Regions from separate parts of the Homo sapiens genome. Here region 2 is linked to region 1. The links are contacts of gene promoters, found by promoter capture Hi-C in blood cells and fetal thymus (Javierre and others, 2016). All regions are on one chromosome and are shown on one strand. Each heading gives the region's core, a stretch centred on a gene start or on the middle of the fragment in contact. The rest is flanking DNA. Distances are from core to core; before and after follow the strand shown.

Evidence for each region. The method cuts DNA at HindIII sites, captures the fragments that hold promoters and counts their contacts. A CHiCAGO score of 5 or more calls a contact.
Region 2: a contact is called between a fragment that was not itself captured here and the fragment with the promoter of ZFYVE26 in region 1, in 6 of 17 cell types (neutrophils, monocytes, total CD4 T cells and 3 more). The highest score is 13.7, in neutrophils.

The regions. Positions count from the first base shown.
Region 1 is chr14:67,811,249-67,818,171 of GRCh38, forward strand. ZFYVE26 (zinc finger FYVE-type containing 26) reads right to left here and starts at 5,342. Exons shown (of 42, transcript NM_015346.4): 1 at 5,286-5,342; 2 at 4,522-4,798; 3 at 2,738-2,816. The coding sequence starts at 4,715. RefSeq lists enhancers at 5,554-5,723, 5,774-5,873. The HindIII fragment of the contact is 23,571 bases long and covers 1,367-6,923 here.
Region 2 is chr14:68,815,424-68,822,203 of GRCh38, forward strand. No RefSeq gene overlaps it. Among named protein-coding and RNA genes, the nearest start is that of ZFP36L1, 26 kb to the left of the region's middle. RefSeq lists enhancers at 325-544, 625-854, 871-1,610, 1,485-1,534, 1,635-1,684 and 1 more and a silencer at 995-1,384. The HindIII fragment of the contact is 8,351 bases long and covers 1-6,504 here.

The sequences.
Region 1 (6,923 bases), core at 4,092-6,591:
TTTACTGCTGAAACTACTTTAAACATATTCAGGATCATAATTGACTAACATTTATCTTCCTAAAATAGGCAAGAATTTGCTCAGCATTTCTAAGCAAGGATGTCATGCAAAAGTGGAACCAAAGACAAAATTAATTCTGGTGACCGAGAGGAGCAAAAATTTAAAAAACTGGCAAAATTATAGACATCTTAAAAGTAGAATTTGTGGTTTCTTAGTTTTAAGTCCATCTGGGCTAAAAAAGTAGTGTTAAGGCAGAAAAAGCAGAGGATTGAGGTCAGAAGATTTTGGTTTCAGCAGCAGTTCTGTCAAATAACTTTACGGTTACAAGAGCAAGGCATGTTCAATGTAGAAAAATTGAATATACAAATAAGTAAACTAAAATATGTTATATATATATAAAACATATGTATGTCCAGTTAGTCTTATTTCTGCTATTTCTCTAAGATAAAGTGTTTTATCCTAGAGAGAGATATGTAACATATATGTTATATTTTAGTGCAATATAATATATATAACATATGTTAGTTTGCTTATTTGTATATTTAATTTTGTAATTTTACAAATTTAATTGGTGTATTTAGTTACATATGAAATATATAATATATAACATATATGAAATTTATGATATATAACAAATATAAAATATATGATATATAACATGTATTATATATGAAATATATATCACATATGAAATATATTACATATAACATATTATATATGAAATATATATTTTATATATATTCTCACTGAAGGAGAACAATTATGAAAACTGTGGTCTAAGGCCATTCATTCAGACCATTTGCTATGCACATCTCTATGCATGTATACCAAATGTACTTTTTTCTAAACTGCCTTTTTTCCCATACAGCAGACCATGAACACTCTATGTTAGTGAAAACTCATTTGCCAAATACTTTTGAATAGTGGTATAGTATTTTACATATAGATATATTTCCATTTATTAACCTGTCCTATACTATGGACATGGGAGTTGTTTCAGTTTTCTTCTAATAGAAGTAGCATAGACGTGAACATTTCTGCAGCTAAATCTTTGTATAATTGCTTACACATGGAGAGATACATCTCTGCAAGATTAAAAGGCAGAAGGCAAAAATGAATGGAGGAAAGGGAAAATAGAATCACTATTTCATCTAATAATTAAAAGGGAAGCTTTTGGCAAAAGGTGGGAACCTGGAAAAGGACAGGCAGCCAGTAAATTCCTAGATGATGAAGGCACCTTCAGGATAATGACTGGACTTGGAAAACTACCCCAAGAATTCACTGGACGCCATGGTGCTTATATAGTTTTAAAATTCTATGAGGAACTAAAATAGTCCCACAACTGTTTAAATAAGCAAGTCATTGAAGCTTTAAAGACCAAATAATCTATTTGTGAACCTGGGAAAAACAAGAACGGGAAGTGGAATCCATCTCCTGACATAGTTGAGCAACTGTCTAGAAAATAAGCAACCATTCAGATATAAAGTAAGCAAATAGTCTCTACTGAGGGGAAAGTTAATTTGATTTGACAAATTCCATGTTTGTACTAGAGAGATCCCTTAATCAGTAACAATAGTTCTTTTTCTCTTTGAAGATACTATAGTAACTATAGGTTACTATTTTAGTTCAAGTTTTCTCTTTTAAATCTGAAACCATAGCCAACTCTTAATGATGCTGGGTTTCATTATGTTTCAATCTTGTTTTTCTTTCTTCTCGCTCCTACTAGTCTTTCTGTCATTTTTCTTTCCTAAACAACTGGCTAAATCCTGGATAAGAGATACATTCAGATTAGCAATTTCTGTTACTTTTTGACAGCTCTGTGAGGAACGATAAATATCATGCAAAAGTGGAACCAAAGACAAAATTAATTCTGGTGACCGAGAGGAGCAAAAATTTAAAAAACTGGCGAAATTACAGACATTTTAAAAGTAGAATTTGTGGTTTCTTAAAGTCCATCTGGGCTAAAAAAGTAGTGTTAAGGTGGAAAAAGCAGAGGATTGAGGTCAGAAGATCTTGGTTTCAGCACCAGCTCTGTCAAATAACTTTACGGTGTGTCCTTGGGCCAGTCATTTCTAAGTTAGAGGTTCTTCACTTAAATCTCAAAGTCTGAAGTTCAATATGAAAATGTCTCAGAGTAATTCTTTTATAAGATATAAATTTCTGATAATTAACATACTTCTAAAAGGACTTTTAATGGAAGTTTATCTTTAAAAAAGGTAATTCCTTACCAGGTTTTTTTTTTCAATATTAATTTGCTTACTTGTTTTTATATCTGGTAATTTTCTGTTCAATTCATGTGAATTATTAAACTATGAATTAATGGAATTTGAATCTATGAGATGTCATGGAATTAGGCTAGTTAAAATATGATTTTTGGAAGAAAAACCAAGTTTCAGCTCAGCCCATTCTCTATTACTTAAATGTTGAATAGATCCAAATGTTACAGATTCATATTTTATTTGCTATTTTGTTACCTTCACTGAGTTTCCAAAAGTTCTCTTTAGGCACAAGACTCATGGTGGTATTTAACAAACAGTAATATATGCCAATGTATATTAGTGCATTAATGAATGAATTTAGGTAAGGAGACAGCAATAAAAATTTAAGCCATTCTTTGAGAATGAGTATGATGAATTTAATGATAAAGGAAGTAACAGACAGAAGGGAAATCCCACAACTACTTTCAAGTTCTTCTCAGTCCTGGCCTCGGAGGAAAATTTAATATAAACCTACTTACCTTTTCCCGGGCCAACCATTTCTCCAGTACAAGAAGCCAGACCCAGGCTACTCTTTGAGGGTTGATGTCCTGCCCACATCTGAAAAAGGTAAAAAGAAAGACTTGTAAAAAAGAGTTTCTACTGATCTTTCATCTTTTGTCATCCAAGACAGATTTCATTGCTTATTCTGTTTTAAACCTGAACAGGCAAGACACTGCCCTAATGAGATATTTTTAAATGTATATGACAGTTCAGTAAAACATTGGAACCAGGCCAGGCAAGGTGGCTCACACCGGTAATCTCAGCACTTTGGGAGGCTGAGGTGGGTGGATCACCTGTGGTCACGAGTTCGAGACCAACCTGGCCAACATAATGAAACCCCATCTCTACTAAAAATACAAAAATTAGCCAAGTGCGGTGGCAGGCGCCTGTAGTCCCAGCTACTCGGGAGGCTGAGGCAGGAGAATCGCTTGAACCTGGGAGGCGGAGGTTGCAGTGAGCCTAGATCATGCCACTGCACTCCAGCCTGGGTGACAGAGCAAGACTCTGTCTCCAAAACAAACAAACAAACAAACAAACAAACAAACAAATCAGAACCAGAACAGAGCTAGCAGCTTTCATAAAAAGCCTTAATCTCACCTCCACCTCCTTATCTTAGTTTAAAATAAAATAATATTCGAGAAAACCATAATAGCTAATACTATCTGAAGCATATTTTTAATACAGAAAGTGAATCAGACAGTCTTAAAAAAGGAACTTCATACAAATTTATTTTTAACTATATGCTAAAAACAGGACTTTAGGAATTCATAAGCCTTTCTTTGAAGTTAGGAATTTAGACGGTAACTGGCTAGATCTCAAATTAAAGGAGAAAAAGAAAAGGAAGGGATCACTTAAGTTTCTCCATCGTATATGTGCTAATACAATATGTAAACAGTATAGCATAACAGTCAAAGGAAGGAAAACCCAAGGAAAGACTTAAAACGGTACATTTGACTCCTACATCACCAGTGGTTACTAGCATCACCAGGAGGAACTTCATTGAAAATCAAGGATGGAGAACTGTGGTTGCCAGGGAACAAGGAGGGGTTGTTGTATAAATACAAAGAGGTAGCACCAAGGAGTGAGGGAATTCTTTTGTGGTAATGGAACAGTTCTGATCCTTATTACAGTGGGATTACATGAATCTATATATGGATAAAACTGCATAAAACTACAAATGAAAAAATGAAGGCAGATTAAGAAAATGCTGAAAACCAAATAAACTCTGTAGTGTCATTTAAAGTAATGTGCCAATGTCAATTTCATGGTTTTGATATTGTACTACAGCTGTATGAGACGTCGCAATTGGGGCAGACTGGGAAAAGGATACGCTGGACTCCATTATTTTTGCAGCTTCTTGTGAGACTGCAATTATTTCGAAATAAAAAGTTTTAAGTAAAGCGACAACAATATTTTCAATCTCATAAGCAAGAAGAGAGCAGGGTTTGCTTTTTTGGAGGCAAAGAAAATAGTTTTCAATGCAGTTCCACCATCTATATTAACGAGGATAAACAAGAAATGGCAGTTTCAGGCACACTTTGGCAGCCAGGCTTACATTCAGTTGCAGATGATAATCAAAAGCCAATATTGACTAAGTAATGGATGTATACTATAGAGGTAAAATTTCAGAGCACGTGAAATACACTGTGCCTCTGCTTATTCTTCAGAGGGTAGTTGAGTGGGGGCACATTGACCAATGCCCAAATATTGAACCACATGTCTCTCACCCTGGGACCGTCTGGTAGGAAAAGAGATCCCTTACCTCAGCAGATTTGGACACACCACCAATGCCTGAAGTATGTCTTCTACCCTCTTTGGGATATCCCCTTGTCCCTCCTGTAGCTGAGGTACACATGCCTGTGCCAGCTCCCATTCTCCCCTCCGCAGGCATTCGCAGAAAAATCCAAAAAGCTGCTTCTGCGAAGCAGCTTCCTCTTTTCCAAATGGATGATTCATTTTCCCAGCACAGAGTGCAGGGAGATACAAAGAAATGAGTTATGCCGAACACATTCTCAATGTTCTCATTCGCGGAGTACCTCCTAGAAACAACACAACGCCAGTGAGAAGAAACAGAAGGCACTGTATTAAGACAAAGCAGCAACTACTGGTCCGCCTGGGAAAGGCGGGACTTGCTTGCCTAAGTATCGTTTTCAGTTTAATTTCCCACGTTACTTTTTGAAAACACTTTCTTCAAGGGGTGGATCCCATCTCTTCACGCGGATTCCTATATTTAATAATATTAATAGTCATATTTGCTCCGGGCGCAGACCCATAACTCTACGTCCGTATTCCCTACTGAACGTTATGCCCAGTCTTGACTCCAAATCCCCAGGTGGTCGCCTCCTCAAGAATGAGAAATTCAGCAGGAACCTCCCTAGTTTGAGCCCTCTGTTAAGGCAGAGGATTGACGACCAGGAGACGAATCTGTGTCATAAGTGGAAAGCAGTGTGGGGGTGGGCCGCAGGGACGCTCTCTGCGGGGGTCGTGGAGAGGGGCCCCTCCCTCTCAGGGGTGTCTTACACTCACCTGCTCCCGGCGCCCAAAGCAATAGAGCTCTCAGCGCAGCCATGTTTGAGCCGAGTCAGGTGACAGAACCCACTCCGAACAGCGGTGGTGGGGGTGGTGACAAAGACTGAAAGCCCCACTCCTATTGGCTCAAGGCAGGGAAGATGAAAATTAAGTGCCATATTTGTTTGAGTCACGTGACGCCACCTCTCCGGGAGTAGGGAAAGCTAGAAAGCTCGGAAAGAGGAAATCAGCTACCTGGCTGCGGACCATCTCCCTCAATTGTGACAGCTCCGGCGCTCAATACTTTCAGTTCTGCATTCGGCCGAGCAGGTGGCAGGAAGAACTGTGACCCTGGATTTTTTTTTTTCTTCCACTCTCTTATCTCCTTAACATGTGAAGTCAACATTTATTGAACGCCAACCAGTGATGGTGTTTTGCCAGGCGCGGGGGATACCCGGAGCTAGGAGAACTGGGTTCTCCTCCATTATTATTCTATCTACTGGGCTCTTTTGTTCCGGAACTCTGCGGTCTGAATTTCCATATTCTTCTGCTTCACTCCATTCATTTATTTGCACATTTACCCTACAACTGTTAATTGAACGGTGTGCTAGGCTTTATTTTATTTTTTTAGAGACAGAGTCTCTCTGTCGCTGGAGTGCGGTGGTGTGATCTCGGCTCATGGCAGCCTCGAACTTCCTGGATCAAGTAATCCTTAAGCCTCAGCCTTCCTGTAGTAGCTGGGACTAGAGGCGCGCGCCACTACACCGGGCTTAGGCCCTATTCTCTAAGTTGAGTAAATGGAGGTCCTTCTTCTCAAGGGAGATGCAGGCCAAAAATTAGGAGACGGTGGGCTAAATTATAAGACAGAAGTATGCATAAGAGATCAGAGAGCAAAGAATGAGCAAAGGCTTTTTCGCAAACACAATAATCTGAAACCAAGTCTTTTGTTTTGAGACAGAGTCTCGCTCTGTCTCCCAGGCTGGAGTGCAATGGCGCGATCTCGGCTCGCTGCAACCTCCGTCTCCCGGGTTTAAGCGATTCTCCTGCCTCAGCCTCACTGTGTAGCTGGGATAAGCGATTCTTCTGCCTCAGCCTCACTGAGTAGCTGGGATTTACAGGCGCGCGCCACCACACCCGGCTAATTTTTGTATTTTTAATAGAGACAGGGGTTCACCATGTTGGCCAGGCTGGTCTCGAACTCCTGACCTCAGGCAATCCGCCCACCTCGGCCTCCCAAAGTTCTGGGATTACGGGCGTGAGCCACCGTTCCCAGCCTGAAACCAACTCTTGAAGTAACGGCTTACTAGGTTTGCTCACCACAGCTGCCTTACACCAAGCCTTTTGTTTGGTTTCCCTGGTGTGCTTTAATCACAGACTCTCAGCTTTCCTCACTATGTGTGTTTCAGGTTTAGTAATTTCATTCAGCATTTCCCAAACTATTTAATCACCAAAGGGTGGTGAAAAGAGCAAGTTAAAACAAACAAAACGTTTTCTTCCAAAAACTCTTCTGTGATTGGTGGATTGTCCTCGATTCCTGAGAAAAGTAACATGGCTTTCTGGCCCATTAAGGTTTTTTTTTTTTTTGAGGCAATGTCTGGCTCCTCTCACCTCAGCCTCCCAAGTAGCTGGGATCACAGGTGCCTGCCACCATGTCTG
Region 2 (6,780 bases), core at 1,079-3,578, 1.0 Mb after region 1:
AAGGTTGAAAACATTTGGGAACTTGATTTCCAACATCAAAATCCAGATCAAAACCCATTCAACAATCCCATGATCCCCTTGCAACAACCCTTTCCTGGCCAGTATCACAGGGTGCCGACCCTCACAGGGTCTCACAATTCAACAATTCAGTGAGAGAGGATGCAGCAACAAAGACTGTAACGAAAAAACAAGAGAGTCTAGGGTCTCACATCAACAATTCAGTGAAAGAGGATGCAGCAACAAAGACTGTAAGGGAAAAACAGGAGAGTCTACAGCTGAAGCTACTGCTACTCAAGGTGGGCAGAGAACGGAAGAGACGGATTCTGTTGGAAACTAAGAGGGGAAATCCAGGAAGGCTTCCTGGTGGAGCTGATCTTTAAGCTGAACCTTGAAGGACTGGTAAGATGAACGGATGTTCTGGAACCTGAGAAACACCCAAGTACCAGAGAGACAGCATCCATGTGTGAACTACTCTAGACAGAGGCAACAGGCGTGGTGGGGCCTGGGGCTCCTCAGAATGGCACCTCAAGTCCCCATGGTGGTCAGGGACTGGAATGCATCGGCCGCCTGCAGCCAGCTCCGCGGGGCCAGTCCCTGACCTCTGGCTCGGAGATTGGTGTGCCCGGTGAAGGAGTTGCCCAAGCATCTTAGGCAACCAGATACTACGCCTGGCCTTGGACCCTGCCACTTGCCTGCCCCACAAAAACCTGCTGACCGCTGTGACCTACTTTAACGCCCTCTGACTTCCCGCTCTTTGAATATGGGGCAAAAAGAAGAAGGGCGACTGGCACCATCCAATTCACTTGAGGCTCGGAGGCTCAGGCCTGCCTTCCTGGCGGCTACTGGGGTGGCGTTTCCCAGCACCCCCGGGAAGCTACCAAGGTCCAGGGCTCTCCTGGGCTTCTGCGACGCCCACGCACTCCTGCGGCCGAGCTTCGCGGTCGGGCTCTCCCGTCGCCACCCCGGCGTCTGCTCAGCCGCGAGCGAGAACCAAGCCGGGCCGGGCGCGGGGCCCGGGCGAGGCCGCCAAGATGGCCGACGCGCTCGGCAGCGCGCGGATCACGCGGGAAGGCTGCCCTTGGCCTCCCGGGAAACAGCCAAGGTTCCGCCGCCCTCCTTGGCGCTCTGCCCCGGCCGGCCTGCCGGGATCTCCTCCCCGGCGCGGTCTGCGGCTCCCGGGGCCTCGCAAACCTTCCAGGCCCGAGGCCATCCAGACGTGCACACCAGGCCCGGCCCGCGAGGGGAGACACAGGGGCCGGGGCTGCGGCGGCTGAGCTCCCTGGGCGGCTCGGAACGCAAGGGGCCGGCGAGCCGACGCTGCTGCAGGAGGCTGCGGCGTGGGGCGAGGTTCTCGCTACGGCTTCGTTCCCGTCCTCCCGCGGCCGCTCTCCCCCGGAAGCCCTCGGAGGCAGCACGATGGACGTGGCCACACTGCCCTCCAGTGGCCAGCTCGCCGAACAACACGTCTGGGCCCCTTTTGGGGGTCTGGGTGACGTGTCCACCCTCTCTCTGCCCTTTGCTACATTTGAAGGTGGGGTTTGCTCATCCATGGTTCCTCTTACAGGTCACCAAAGCTGCCACAGTGCACACTCACCCAACAGCAGGGGATTTGCCGCCTTCGGTGGTTCTCAAACTTCAGTGTGCACAGGAATCCCCCCTTGGACAGTTCTTTCAAACCCGGATTGCTGGGTCCCCCAACCAAGTCAGAGAATTTGCATTTCTAACAAATCCTCAGGCGATGCTGAGCTGCTGGTCCGCTGGTCCTGGAGCCACACTTAGAGAACCACTGGCTCGGCTCACTCTTTCTCTCACGGGGTTTCTGTCATCTACTCATTTAATACAGAATATGTCCTGCTAGCCCCGGAGGACGAGTGGACGGAACAACTTTCTCACCCCTCGCGGAGCTTAGTCTAACGGAGGAGACAGACTTGTTTCAACAAATCACCTAGAAAGAAATATAAGATTCCATTTGAAAAGACTTTCAAATTCCTATGAAGGAAAAGAATCAGGTGCTCAGAGAACATATATAAATGGGGCACTCATTTAGATTTGGGATGGGAAGGTTCTTGAGGAAGACCTCTCTGAGGAAACCCTTAAGCTGAGGCCAGGAGGAGGGATGAGGTCCTGAGGGGAATGGGGAGGGGACTGGAACTGGCAGGAGGAGCAGGTAAGATGCAGACCCTGTCTGTAGAAGCAGAGACTGGTAGGGGGCCAGGCAGGGGGTCACAGCCTCCTAGGCCCATGCCTCTGGTACCCACAGAGCTGCCTCCTCAGAAGGGCAGCATCCAGGGGAGAAGAGGGCCTGCCTGCATGCTCAGATCTTAGCTACCCCCGTCAGTGCCAAGAAGAATGCTCCACCTTGAGGAACCCCAGCCAGGTGCCCACAGCCCACAAACTTCTCTTTGCCTGAGCAGATTTATGTAGGTACCTTCTGTAAGGCCTGAAGGGCAGTCACATCTGATGGAACCAGGTCTGCTGAGTAATGATGAACAGACATGATGTTACCATCTACCCATCAATGCCCTCAGTGTGCCATCTCCTCCCTCCTGCAGTCCAGGATCCAGCTGTTTCTCCAATGAGCATTTTTAAGCACCTACTATGTGCTCTGCACTAGGATCACTGCAATGCTCTGTGGGGCATGGCACAAAGAGGCCAGCCTGCCCTAGGAGGCGCCAAGCACCCTGGAGGGCAGGTAGGTGGAGTACACCCTCCCCGCCCCAGTCTCAGCTCCAGCCTGCTGTGTGCACCCCCACCCCACCCAAACATCCCTGGGGTCACTCATTGCAGGTGGGCCAGGCTGACAAATGGCAGCCAGGAATTCTAGTGTTCTAATGATTCTTACTTTGTATCAATGCCAGCTTGATGGCAGGGGCCAGGATGACCACCAACCACTGCCACTTTATCCCTTGTGCTGACAAGGAGGTATCATCCCATTAATCCTGTTACCTTGCTCAGTCCCTTCTGTCCCGTTTTCACATCTGAAAAATGTGGGGTGCGGATGAGTTGTGTTAGATGATCTCCAAGGGTTTCTGATCCATGCCTAGCCCACCAGTGCACTGTTGGAGAGATGGACGAGAACAGCCCTGCCCAATGACCCCATGACCCTAGCATTATGCAAAGCAAGGCCTTTGTCGTTAACAGACTCCAGGTTAGGGGAAGGGAGCGGGGAGCAGCTGAAAAACTATGTGCAGCTTTAGAATCAATCAAATCAATCCAACTCTATTCCTGACTCTGTGATAGCCAGTAAGTGGTTTAACTTCTCTGAGCCTGTTTCCTCATCTGAGAAATGGGAATAGCATGGTACCTACCTCACTGGGCTGTTCTGAAGATTACTGATAATAGCTACCACTTAGCAAGTGCTTGATCCGTGCCAGGCAGCACACTAGAGGCTTCCCATCCACTCCATGAGGTCATGTGCAGAAGTACTGGTCCCATGCCAGCAAGGAGTAGGGCTCCATCACAGTTGTTAACGCATGACACCCCTACTGCTCTGCACACATATATTTATGTAGTCCTACGGCCCTACTGCTCTGCACACATATATTTATGTAGTCCTACGGCCCTACTGCTCTGCACACATATATTTATGTAGTCCTACGGCCCTACTGCTCTGCACACATATATTTATGTAGTCCTACGGCCCTACTGCTCTGCACACATATATTTATGTAGTCCTACGGCCCTACTGCTCTGCACACATATTTAACAGGCGAAGGGGCTTAGCAAGCTCTTGGCACATAATAAGCACTCAATAAACGGTGGGCTTCATCATTAGCCAGAGAGAAGGGACTCTGTGAGGAGGTCCTACAGAAGGAGAAATATGGAGAAGTGGGTGACCCAAGATGATGGCTCACACACCTCTCCCAGGAGGGCCAGCCCCATGCCTAGCTAGGCAGTTCCCTGGCTAGGACGTCAGCTCTTACTCACTCTTTCCAGAGAGCAGCTAATTAGCCTCCCAGCAGCCAGGAGCTCTCCAGATGAAAGGTGCTTAATACAAGCTCAAGGCGTAACTCCCATATGTATAACTAAGGTTCCCTGAGGTGAGGAAGGCCCCAGGGCGGAGAGACAGGCCAGATCAGGGCCTCGCCTTCTTTATGACGGAGGTTCCCAGGGAAGGGAGCCGGCTGGGGTGGCAGTGAGCCTGAGAAAGGGCTCGGGGTGGTGGGTGTGCGGCTTCAGAGGGAGCCCCTCCCTGGGAGTGGGCGGGGCCCGGTGGCTGAGGAGGCAGAGTGAATGCTTCAGGGCCCAAGCTGCCTCCCAGAGTGGGAGCTCCAGGTCAGAAGACAGCTTAGAACTGGGTGGGTCAGAGCGAGGGCTTTGCTGCTGGGCTGCCAGGTCAGAATCCCAGCTCTGCTATGGCCATTCCATGTCCCAGAGCCTCAGCTTCCTCCTCTGTAAAACGGAGATAATGATAACATTGACCTCACAGCTATTTACTGACAGCACTTAGTACAGACAGGACCTGGCACCCACTACGTAAAGAATGAGGATTTGTACATTTGTTCATTTAACAGATATTTATTGAGTACCTGCTATGTGCCAGGCACTGGGTGTTAGAAATACAGTCATGAACAAAACAGATCCATTTTCCCTTGATTCTGTAGGGAAGATAGACCACAGACCCCAGAACCAAGAGATCGGTAATACACTGCCTGGCAGTGACCTGCGCTGTGGGAATCGGGTATGAGGATGGGGTCAGGTGTCCAATACAGCGGCAGAAGAGCAGGTACCCAGGCAGATATGGGCAGATTAAGAAACGAACCAGGGTTGAAGGGCCAACCCAAAGTGCGCAGCAAATCAGAGGCGGGAGCCTGGGCCTGCAGCATAGGAATGTTCACCCACAGCTGCTGAAGCAGCCGCAGCAGCTCCCTCTGCCCCTGACTAAGGGGTGTGCCCAGCGAAGCCACCTGCCCTCACCTCCCCCTTGGCTCCTGCCCCTGACTCCCGCAGTCTGGAGTCCAGCAAGGCAAGGGAACTGACACAGCCCCCAGGGTCACGATGGCTTCCATTCTTTGACATTCACCAGTGTCACTGGCTGAGCTCAGGCTACACGGCCATCTTCTCTTTGAAGCCTCCAAACCAGCTGGTGAAGTCAGTAGCACCCCTGTGTTTTTTATCAAGGTAAGGTTCACATAACATAAAATGAAGCATTTTAAAGTGAACACTTCAGTGGAATTTAGTATATTTACAGGGTTGTGGAACCTCCGCCTCTGTCTAGTTCCAAAACATTTTTATCACCCCAAAAGGAAACCCATACCCACTAAACAGTTGCTCTCCTTTCCCTCCTCCCCCAGGCCCTGGAAACCACCCTCTACTTCCTGTCGCTATGGGGTTGCCTATTCTGGATACTTCACCTATCCAGAGCTTTTGTGTCTGGCTTCTGTCACTTAGCATCATGTTTTCGAGGTTTATCCAGGTTGTAACATGTATTGTTATTACACCTTGGTCTATGGCTAAATAATGTTCCATTGTCTGTAAGCACTCCCATCTTACAGATGAGGAAACAGTCCCGAGGCGCTGAGACTCCCAGCTTGAGTCCACACCGGAGAGACATGGTCCGTGCAAGCCTGCTCCCCAGATGGCCCCATCCTGGCACTGCCGTCTGGGAGGAGGCTGCCCCTGGGGGCATGCTGGTCCCTGAGTGGTGACCTGACCCCTTCTGAGGTTCACTTCTCAGCGCAGGTTCACTTCTCAGCGCAGGTTCACAGGCGAGGGTGCTCTGGCCTCCCAGTCACCCTGATCCAGGCAAGACCATAGCGTGGCCGCAGGGGCCGCCTCCTTGGGGGAATTCCAGCCCCTGGCCAACCACAGACCATAGCACTCCCGGGGGTTGAACCGTTTCTCACAACTGGGTTGTGACAGCTGGGAGGTGCTCAACCCTGGGGGCCAGCCTGGTGGCAGGCCGGGTTGGGAACGCTGTTCCCAGCCAGCTTCCCTAGGCAACATGGCCAGCCCCGTCCAGCAAGTGGACCACTCAGATGGCAGGCATGTACTGAGCACCCACTGTATACCAGCCAGGCACCACGAGGCCTCCAAGGAGCTCCCTTTCTGATGAGGATGAGCCACCCCAGAACAGAAACTGGGTGCTGGGGCCAGGGGCAGGACAGAGGGGTGCTCCGGAGAACAAGCACCAGCACTGAGCCTGGGGAGTTCCCCGCTGGCAGCGCCTGACACAGCCCACACCGGGGATCCCTGGCCTCAGGAAAGCAGGGCTGTCACATCAAGAAGGCCATGACATAAGGGCCCCTACCAACGTCCAGCCTTAGGTGGAGGGCACAGATATGGCAATACACAGGACCCTAGAATGCCTGCCTGGGGATGCCCACCTTGGCCCACTTGATGGCCAGTTGAGACTCAGTGTGCACTGTCCACACACCCTGTTCTGACACTGACTGCCTAGTGTCCAATTATTCTTCCATCTCACTCATTCAGTGCCAGTTACTCTACTGAGCAATAAGGATATAACATTTTAAAAACAAAACAAACATGTTCCTGTCCTCTAGAAGCTTAAAATAGAGCAAACTGAGAAGGAAACTAATAATGACCACCTTGCCAGGGGCAAGGAGACCAGAGGCAGGGCCCTAACCCACGGGCAGCTGCAGCTGGAATATATGAGACAGTGTGTGTGTGCTCACATGTCCACAGCCGAGCTCACCTCCAGACAGTTATGCACCCCTACCGCTCACCCCATCCCACCTCATCCTCACCAAGGCAGGTCTACTCAGTAAGTCAGGCTGAAAACATGAGCCTGGGGAGTTGGGACTTCTTAACTGCCACCCC